Regions from separate parts of the Homo sapiens genome. Here all the other regions are linked to region 1. Evidence: promoter capture Hi-C in 16 types of primary human blood cells and fetal thymus (Javierre and others, 2016). All regions are on one chromosome and are shown on one strand. Each heading gives the region's core, a stretch centred on a gene start or on the middle of the fragment in contact. The rest is flanking DNA. Distances are from core to core; before and after follow the strand shown. Region 1 holds the start of FBXL3 (F-box and leucine rich repeat protein 3). Region 2 overlaps MYCBP2 (MYC binding protein 2). Region 3 has its middle 59 kb from the start of SCEL.

Evidence for each region. The method cuts DNA at HindIII sites, captures the fragments that hold promoters and counts their contacts. A CHiCAGO score of 5 or more calls a contact.
Region 2: a contact is called between a fragment that was not itself captured here and the fragment with the promoter of FBXL3 in region 1, in 2 of 17 cell types (total B cells and naive B cells). The highest score is 6.0, in total B cells.
Region 3: a fragment that was not itself captured here is called in contact with the fragment with the promoter of FBXL3 in region 1 in 1 of 17 cell types (naive B cells); the score reaches 5.0 in naive B cells.

What each region holds. Positions count from the first base shown.
Region 1 is chr13:77,025,789-77,028,547 of GRCh38, forward strand. FBXL3 (F-box and leucine rich repeat protein 3) reads right to left here and starts at 1,371. Exons shown (of 5, transcript NM_012158.4): 1 at 1,039-1,371. RefSeq lists silencers at 912-971, 992-1,271, 1,442-1,491. The HindIII fragment of the contact is 14,791 bases long and covers 1,338-2,759 here.
Region 2 is chr13:77,287,079-77,289,778 of GRCh38, forward strand. It overlaps MYCBP2 (MYC binding protein 2), which reads right to left. Exons shown (of 83, transcript NM_015057.5): 3 at 1,083-1,298. The region is part of intron 2 of LOC124903184 (a long non-coding RNA gene); the gene reads left to right. Among named protein-coding and RNA genes, the nearest start is that of MYCBP2, 39 kb to the right of the region's middle. The HindIII fragment of the contact is 495 bases long and covers 1,090-1,584 here.
Region 3 is chr13:77,475,086-77,477,785 of GRCh38, forward strand. No RefSeq gene overlaps it. Among named protein-coding and RNA genes, the nearest start is that of SCEL, 59 kb to the right of the region's middle. The HindIII fragment of the contact is 689 bases long and covers 1,008-1,696 here.

The sequences.
Region 1 (2,759 bases), core at 121-2,620:
TTACACTGGGCATGCAATAATTTTAAATGCTCATTTGTAGTTAACTCTAAAAAGCCTATTTTGGCATCACAGTTCCTTTCTGTTCTGCTTTTACTAATATCAAACTAATATGCATTCTTTGGCTGAACTACAAGAATAAAACACTATAAAGAGGTTAACTCACAACTAAATGCTTAGAGAGCGCACAGTGGCGAAAATCTGTCTACAGGTCATATAGATAGATAGATAACTGATAGTTGATGGTATTTTTATAAATATTTCAGAGATAACAGAAACTAAGTTACTTTTTTTTCAAGTTAGAAAAGGAGGATTCTAATTAAAAAATCTGGGTCACTCAACTGGATATCATTAGCAACGACAAAATAAAAATGATCTCTCTCACCTCTCAGCTTGGAGATACAGACCATTTACTGGGCTGCTTCCTGACCCCTGTCTGCAACCCCACCTAAAGGACTGCCCACGCCAAAGGCAGACGCGAATCCGCTCAACACAAGTTGACCAAGTTTTTCGCCTGGCTAAGCGGCAGGGGCGTCCCCTCCTCCCTGCGCCACCTCCCCACCGACTGGCTTCCCCTGACATTTCTCATGCGCCCCACCCTGGGCAGTTTGCTTTGACATTTCAGTGCCTCATTGCTCAAGCTACCAGCACGGGCGTAGCCGACGCCGGGAGAGCCCACAGAGTGCGAGCTCCATGGTGCCTGTCACCAGCCCCCGCCAAGGGTCATAAAGCCTGGCAGGAGCCGCGGCGAACCCGGGAGCGGCGGCGTCGCGGGCAGGCTGCAGGCGGCCGCCGCACACGCACCACGCCTTGTTGACATGTTTGGAAGCAGGCACGGCGGGGAAACGCCCCCAAGCAAGCTCCAAGGTCTGGGTGCCGCGCCCCGCGCCCCGCCCGGCACTCCTGAGGAGCGGCCCGCGCGCGCCCCGGCCCCCGCGCCCCCCCCCACCCCACCCCACCCCGGCCCGCCCACAGACGGTCCGCGGTCCCTCCCCGGCTCCGCCGTCGCAGCGGGGCTCGGCCCTGCCCCTCCGCCGTTACCTGCTGCCGGGGGCGGCTTCCCCCACACACCACCCCGTGCTCCGGGGACGGCGGCGGCTGCAGGTCCCGCGGCTCTCACATGAGGCGCCCCTGGCCCCCCGCTTCGCGCTCCCGCAGCCGCGGCCCCCCGCGCTCCGCCCGCATCCGAGGCGCTGGTCCCGCGGAGGGCGCCAACGCGGCTCCACCTTTGCGGCTCTGGCTGCCCAGAAAGAAGCTTTCCTTCTCAGTCCCGCGCTGTCTGTGTTCAGGGATCCCCGGCGCCGCGAGAGACTACCTCAGCGAGCGGCTGCCACCGCGTAAGCTTCCTGCACCTGGGCCACAAACAGCGAGTCTAAAATGGCGCCCAGGGCTCGCGGCCGCGCGCTTCCCTGGCGCGTCCCCGCCCAAGGGGGCGGGAAGGGGGCGGGGGGGGGGCGGAGCCCGGCGGGAGTAGGGCCGCGCCCAAGCGGGAGCGCGCGCTGCGGCCGCCCCAGTCTCCTTGCTGTGGGACGAGCCTCTGCCTTCCTGCCAGAGATGTGACTCCCGCTTGAAGGGGATTTTTTTTGTTGTTTTGAGATGGAATGTGGGAGGGCTGAAGCTAGCTATATGTGGAAGAGACTATCTGTGGCTGAAACTGGAAGGTTTAGGGAGGTGGAGCAGAAAAAAGAAAGGAAGGAGTCTCGCCGGAGCCTGCTGGGGACCGCGGCCCGCGGGTGGCCGCCCCGGATGCCTGAAACCGAGGAGTTAAATACAGTCTCCGAAGACCCGCGCATCGATGTGCATAAGTGGTGCTTAAAAGATGCCAAGGAAATGTACCAGAATAGTGAGAGTATTAACGCTGGGATTGCACATGGTTTTTGTTTTTCAAATATTTGTATTTCCCAATATTTCTAAAGTGGCTTTTATCATTAGAGTTATTACATTTTAAAAACGACATTTGCTTTATGAAATAGAGTCCTGAAATTTGTAAATAGCTTTTGAAACGCAATGGGGAAAGTAAAGGATTACAAAGCTGCTGAAAAGAAAACCTCTGGTGAATCCTTTTGTAAATCAAGGCATCTTTGTAACTGCTACCTAGTTGACTTGTTTTAAAGTTTGGATTTTTTGATACTGCGTTTTCTTACAGTTAGAAACATTCTTAGGTGCAATATCATTAAGTTGAATCATGCGCCATTCCTCTCTACACCTCCAAAAAAAAAGAGAGAAAGTAGTTTTCCATTCAAAGATGTCTTAGAACACTCAGACCCATGTATAAGACACTGAAAAGCAGTGGTGCCCAGGGAGCTCTCCGTTCTTCCCGTTTTCTCAAGAAATTGAGCTAGGAAGCCATGTATAAAGTTACGTCGAAGTTCAGTGTGAGGCCAGGAGTGGTACAGGCTTATGTCTGTAATCCCAACATTTTGGGAAGCCAAGGCAGAAGGGTTGCTTGTGGTCAAGAATTGGAGACCAGCCTGCGCAATATGTCCAGACTCTTGTCTCTACAAAAAAATAGAAGAGTAATAATTTTAAAAAATCAGACGAGCTTGGTGTAATCCCGGCTACTACTCAGGAGGCTGAATCGAGAGGATGGCTGGAGCCCAGGAGTAGGAGGTTACAGTGACCTATGATGTCACCACTGCACTTCAGTCTGGGTGAGAGAGTGAGACTGTTTCTATAATAAAATGAATTCAATGTGGGGAAATGCCAGTGTTGTTTGTTCGGTGTTTTTTAAGGGCCTGTCAGCTGTCAGATCACTGAATCAA
Region 2 (2,700 bases), core at 87-2,586, 260 kb after region 1:
GGGTTTCACCGTGTTAGCCAGGATGGTCTCGATCTCCTGACCTCGTGATCCGCCCGCCTTGGCCTCCCAAAGAGCTGGGATTACAGGCGTGAGCCATTACGCCCAGCCAGTTTCTTTTTTTTTTTTTGAGACAGTCTCACTCTGTCACCCAGGCCGGAGTGCAATGGCATGATCTCGGCTCACTGCAACCTCCGCCTCCTGGGTTCAAGCAATTTTCCTGCCTCAGCCTCTGAGTAGCTGGGATTATAGGCGACTGCCACAATGCCGGGCTAATTTTTGTATTTTTAGTAGAGACAGGGTTTCACCATGTTGGCCAGGCTGTTCTCAAACTCCTGACCTCAGGTGATCCACCCGCCTTGGCCTCCCAAAGTGCTGGGATTACAGGTGTGAGAGCCACTGCGCCCGGCCTACAATACATGCTTCTATTATAGAAATACCAACTAGTTTATATGCTCCTGGTAAATAAGGGAGTAATATCAGAATAATGCAGAAGTTCAGTTGGTTCATAGGTGATTTTTTTTTTTCCTAATCAAGGGAAACCACAATATCAAGAGTACAATTATAAGCTTAGGCAGAAAGGAAAAGGCTCTCAGCCCTGCTACTACACAGCTGAGAGGCTTTGTAGTTCTATTTCAAGAAAAATAAAAACGCATACCTGCATCCCAGGTGAGGAGCACCTCCCAGCTTTCCAGGGCTCTTGGCTTTCTCTTGTGCCCACCTTACTCTCGGCTCACTGGCTCAGAGCTCTACTTCCATCTGCCATGGCTCAATGCCTCTATACTAGCATTTCCACCCTACTGCTTTTGTACATTTTTTAATTGCCCCTATAACAGACTCCAACCCACTGATCTCCCTTCCTGCGCTTTCCAGTGAATTATCAATTATTGACTTTGTTAGCACCTTAGTTATAAAGTTGCAGAGTTTTCCTTTTCTGCTCCAAATCTATTTTTGCCCATAAGCCGTGTTATTTTTAGTGTGCAATTTTACATAAAGCAAAGTATTTTAGCAATGCGTATATATGCATTATAGCCAGAACACCTGCAGGTTACACATCTAAATATTAATAGAACTCAGTGGCTTACCTTTGGAAGCTTGATAGGGGGCTCTTTGGATTCCTCTTCTTCATCACTATCTGATTCTCCACTCTGCACAGAGTTCTTAGATGCGGCTGCCAATGATATTTCCTTTTTCTGCCATTCCAGAACGCAATGGCGTACATTACAGTAAATATTGAAAGCAGAAGGATTGCTATGTAGTTTGATATCTGGTATGATTACTGTATTCTCTAAGTTTTCAGACTGAAATACAAAACAGAATATTTCCATTTCACACTCTTTTCTATCATCAAGTCCCATTTTACATAAAAGTAAAGATTAGACACACTAACTGACTTGCAGAAGACACATTATGTGACACAGCAGAGACAGTCTAAGTCTATGGACCCAACTTCTAGTCCCCTTTTCTATACCTCACTATTTTTTGAGCAATGCAGCAATAACCAACCAATCTGACAAGGGCTGGAAAAGGATGGGCAAAAAACTTAGAAATATTCTTGTATCGCCATGACAGGAATAGACTCAACAAAGCTTAACTCTTAGAGTTCTGTATCAAAGGAAATTCATTTTACGACTTCCTAAGAGACTCTAGACACACTGTAGAGTCTCAATGACCTACTACAAACATTAGATTGCATTTTGAATGCTTTTAAAAGTAGATATAGAAGTTTACACAGAAATGAGGGCCTCCCAAAAAAACACTTAATTTTCATCAGCTCATTTCATTCTCATTCAAGTAACAGTAATGCCAAGTAAACTGTAGATGCTTCCCTAAGCTCTCTCTCACCTATCAGTATTGATAAAGGCTAAAAATCATGTGATTGGTAATTTGTTAAGACTAAACAGTTTCTCTTTTATGCCCAATATTTTATTCATCAGACAGCAACTACAATTTCAAGATCAACATTTATATTATAAATATAAAAAGCTGTTTTAAAATATTTTAGAAATTCAACTTCCAATAATTAGAGTATGTCCAGGAAGTATCTAAGATAAACAAAATGATACCTCAAGTACCAAAAACACTTGGTCCCAAATATTCGACTCTTCTTCCATAAAGAATTGGAAAAAAAAAATACACTTGTTAAATAAGAAATACATCAAAAAGTTAAATTGGCATGGCATATAACTTATGAATATATGTATAAGAGATATTACAAATATCTCATCCAAATATCCAGAGATATTACAAGTATTAGCTATTCAAATCCAACAATATATAAAAAAGTAATACATTATGACCAACTGAGGTTTAACCCAGGGACAATGCTGGCACAACACTGGAAAAGCAACCACTGTTGTAACAGAGAAAAAATATATTATACTTCAAATAAACACAGAAAGATCACTTGACAAAAATCCAGTATCGATTCATGATAGAAAAAAAAAAAGTCTAAGTTAGGAATAGAAGGGAATTTTCTCAACTTGATAAAGGGTATCTACAAAATAACCACAGCTAACATGGTAATAGACTGAATGCTTTCCCTCTAAGATTGTGATCCAGGCAAATTGGTCTACTCTCAGCAACTCATCAACATTGTACTGGATATCCTATCTAGTGCAAGGAAAATATCCTATCCAGCCAAGGGAAAAAGGCAAGAAGTATTTTCTAAAAAAGAAATGTTTTTACTTGTAAAAAAACATG
Region 3 (2,700 bases), core at 102-2,601, 450 kb after region 1:
GCTAGATACAGAGTGCCCACACAAAGGTTCTCAAAGTCCCCACCAGAGTAGCTAGATACAGAGTGTCGATTGGTGCATTCACAAACCCTGAGCTAGACACAGGGTGCTGATTGGTGTGTTTACAAACCTTGAGCTAGATACAGAGTGCCAATTGGTGTATTTACAATCCCTTAGCTGGACATAAAGGTTCTCCAAGTCCCCACCAGGGTAGCTAGATACAGAGTGTGGACTGGTGCCTTCACAAACCCTGAGCTAGACACAGGGTACTGATTGGTGTATTTACAATCCCTTATCTAGACATAAAGGTTCTCCAAGTCCCCACCAGACTCAGGAGCCCGGCTGGCTTCACCCAGTGGATCCCGCACAGGGGCCGCATGTGGAGCTGCCTATCAGTCCCAGGCCGTGCGCCGGCACTCCTCAGCCCTTGGGTGGTGGATGGGACTGGGCGCTGTGGAACAGGGGGCGGCGCTCCTCGGGGAGGCTCGGGCCGCGCAGGAGCCCACGAAGTGCGGGGGAGGCTCAGGCATGGCGGCGGGCTGCAGGTCTCCAGCCCTGCCCGGCGGGAAGGCATCTAAGGCCCGGCGAGAAATTCAGCACAGCAGCTACTGGCCCAGGTGCTAAGCCTCTCACTGCCCCGGCCCGCTGGCCGGCGGGCAGCTCCGAGTGCAGGGCCTCCCGAGCCCACGCCCACCCGGAACTCGCGCTGGCCCACAAGCACCGCGTGCAGCCCCGGTTCCCGCCCCCACCTTTCCCTCCACACCTCCCGGCAAGCTGAGGGAGCCGCCTCCGGCCTTGGCCAGCCCAGAAAGTGGCTCCCACAGTGCAGCAGCGGGTTGAAGGGCTCCTCAAGCGCGGCCAGAGTGGGCGCCAAGGCTGAGGAGGCGCCAAGAGCGAGCAAGGGCTGTGAGGGCTGCCAGCATGCTGTTACCTCTCACTGGGATTACAGGCATGAGCCACCGCGCCCGGCCTGAGGTAAGTTTTAGAGCAGGAGTGAAAGTTTATTAAAAAGCTTTAGAGGAGAAACAAAAGAAAGTAAAGGACACTTGGAAGAGAGCCAAGTGGGCAACATGAGAGATCAAGCGTGTGGTTGACTTTTGACTTAGGTTTTTATATGTTGGCACACTTCCAGCGTCTTGTGTCCCTTCTCACATGATTCTTCCCTTAGGGAAGGCTGTTGGCATGCGCAGTGGCCTGCTAGCGCTTGGGAGGTGAGCATGCACGGTGTGTTTACTGGAGTTATATGCATGCTTACTTGAGGCATTCTTCCCTTAGCAGTTGATTGCCCCTAGAACCCTAGAGGGTCATATACCAGTTAAACTCCACCATTTTGCTTCTTAATGCACATGCTTGAGCCCACTTACCCAGCCCCTGAGATCTTACTGAGAAGCTACTGATCACCAGTTCCAGGTTTTTTCTTTATATTGGAAGACTGCCTTTCCCTGGCACTGGCTGCAACCAATTATTATTTTAGAGAGACAGTTAACAACCACCTGACCATCACCTAATGATCACCTGACATTACTGGTTGGTAGGTGGGGAGCCCTCTCCTGCTCTGCTCATGCCTGACTAGCTACCTATGTAACATGACCACACTCTTTAGGAATGTACAATAATTATAATATGAAATGGTCAGGGCCATCTGTAAGGTAGTTAGAAACCATGAGGGTACACATCTCTCTTCTGGGAAGAGTAAGGAAGCTTCAGAGAGAAATTCCTAGAATCTATTCCACTGCACATTTTGACAGGGCCCCAAAGCATCCCAGACTTGCAGGCACTTTAGAATCAGAACTTTTACCCTTGCATATGACTGATTTATTTTACAATGTGTCCTGGAAGTAAGATAGTATAGTCTAGGTTCTTTCCCTGCAGTAACTGGACCAGGTATACAAAACCTCTTTGGTACTCAGAACCATTATAGCTTATGAAGACTTCTTCAGGAATATTAGAATTGCTAATTCGGGTTCTCTTGTCTCTTACAGTAAGTAGAATGACCCCAGTGAATCCAAGTGGCCAAATATTTTAGGCTTGTCTGATTCTACTGCTTCCATGCAAATCTTGTATGGAAGTGGGGGAAAAAGGCAAATCCAGGGTCACACAGATTATTAGAAAAGAGGTTAGAATAAAATGTGGTCACAAAAATCCTCATCGGATTCTTACAGTAGATCATATGATTTGCTTTTCTGTGTGCCTATATGAAAAATATGTACTTATTGACAAAAATATATGAGTAAATATGTTCAATAAATCAATCGCAGCTATGTTTTAGATAGATGATTGGAGAAACTGTCATGGACCTAAGAATCACACTTTTTCTCTTTACTGTCAACAAGTTAGGATGAATCATTTTACTCTGAAGAATAAGGATATGGTTATTTCTCATCATCGTTCAAGCTTGAGTGTGTTCAAGCTTGAGTGTGTCTAAGAGCCTTTTCCTTCAAGGAGCCAGCATGCCATCCACGGAACTCACAACACTGGTTGCCAGAGTTCTCTGCTTTAGAAAATAAAAGTGGGTTGGCTATGACTTCTGTGCTTATTCACTACACCTATGCCTAGAGTCCCTAAAGATTCTTTGGTTGCTTTTGACAATTGCAAATTGTATCTACAGCCACATTTCCATAGTCAATTCAGTGGTAGCTGATTTGAGAACTGCTTCTTGATGTACTAGCACAGTATAGAGATTTTTCTACTTTGAAATGGCTA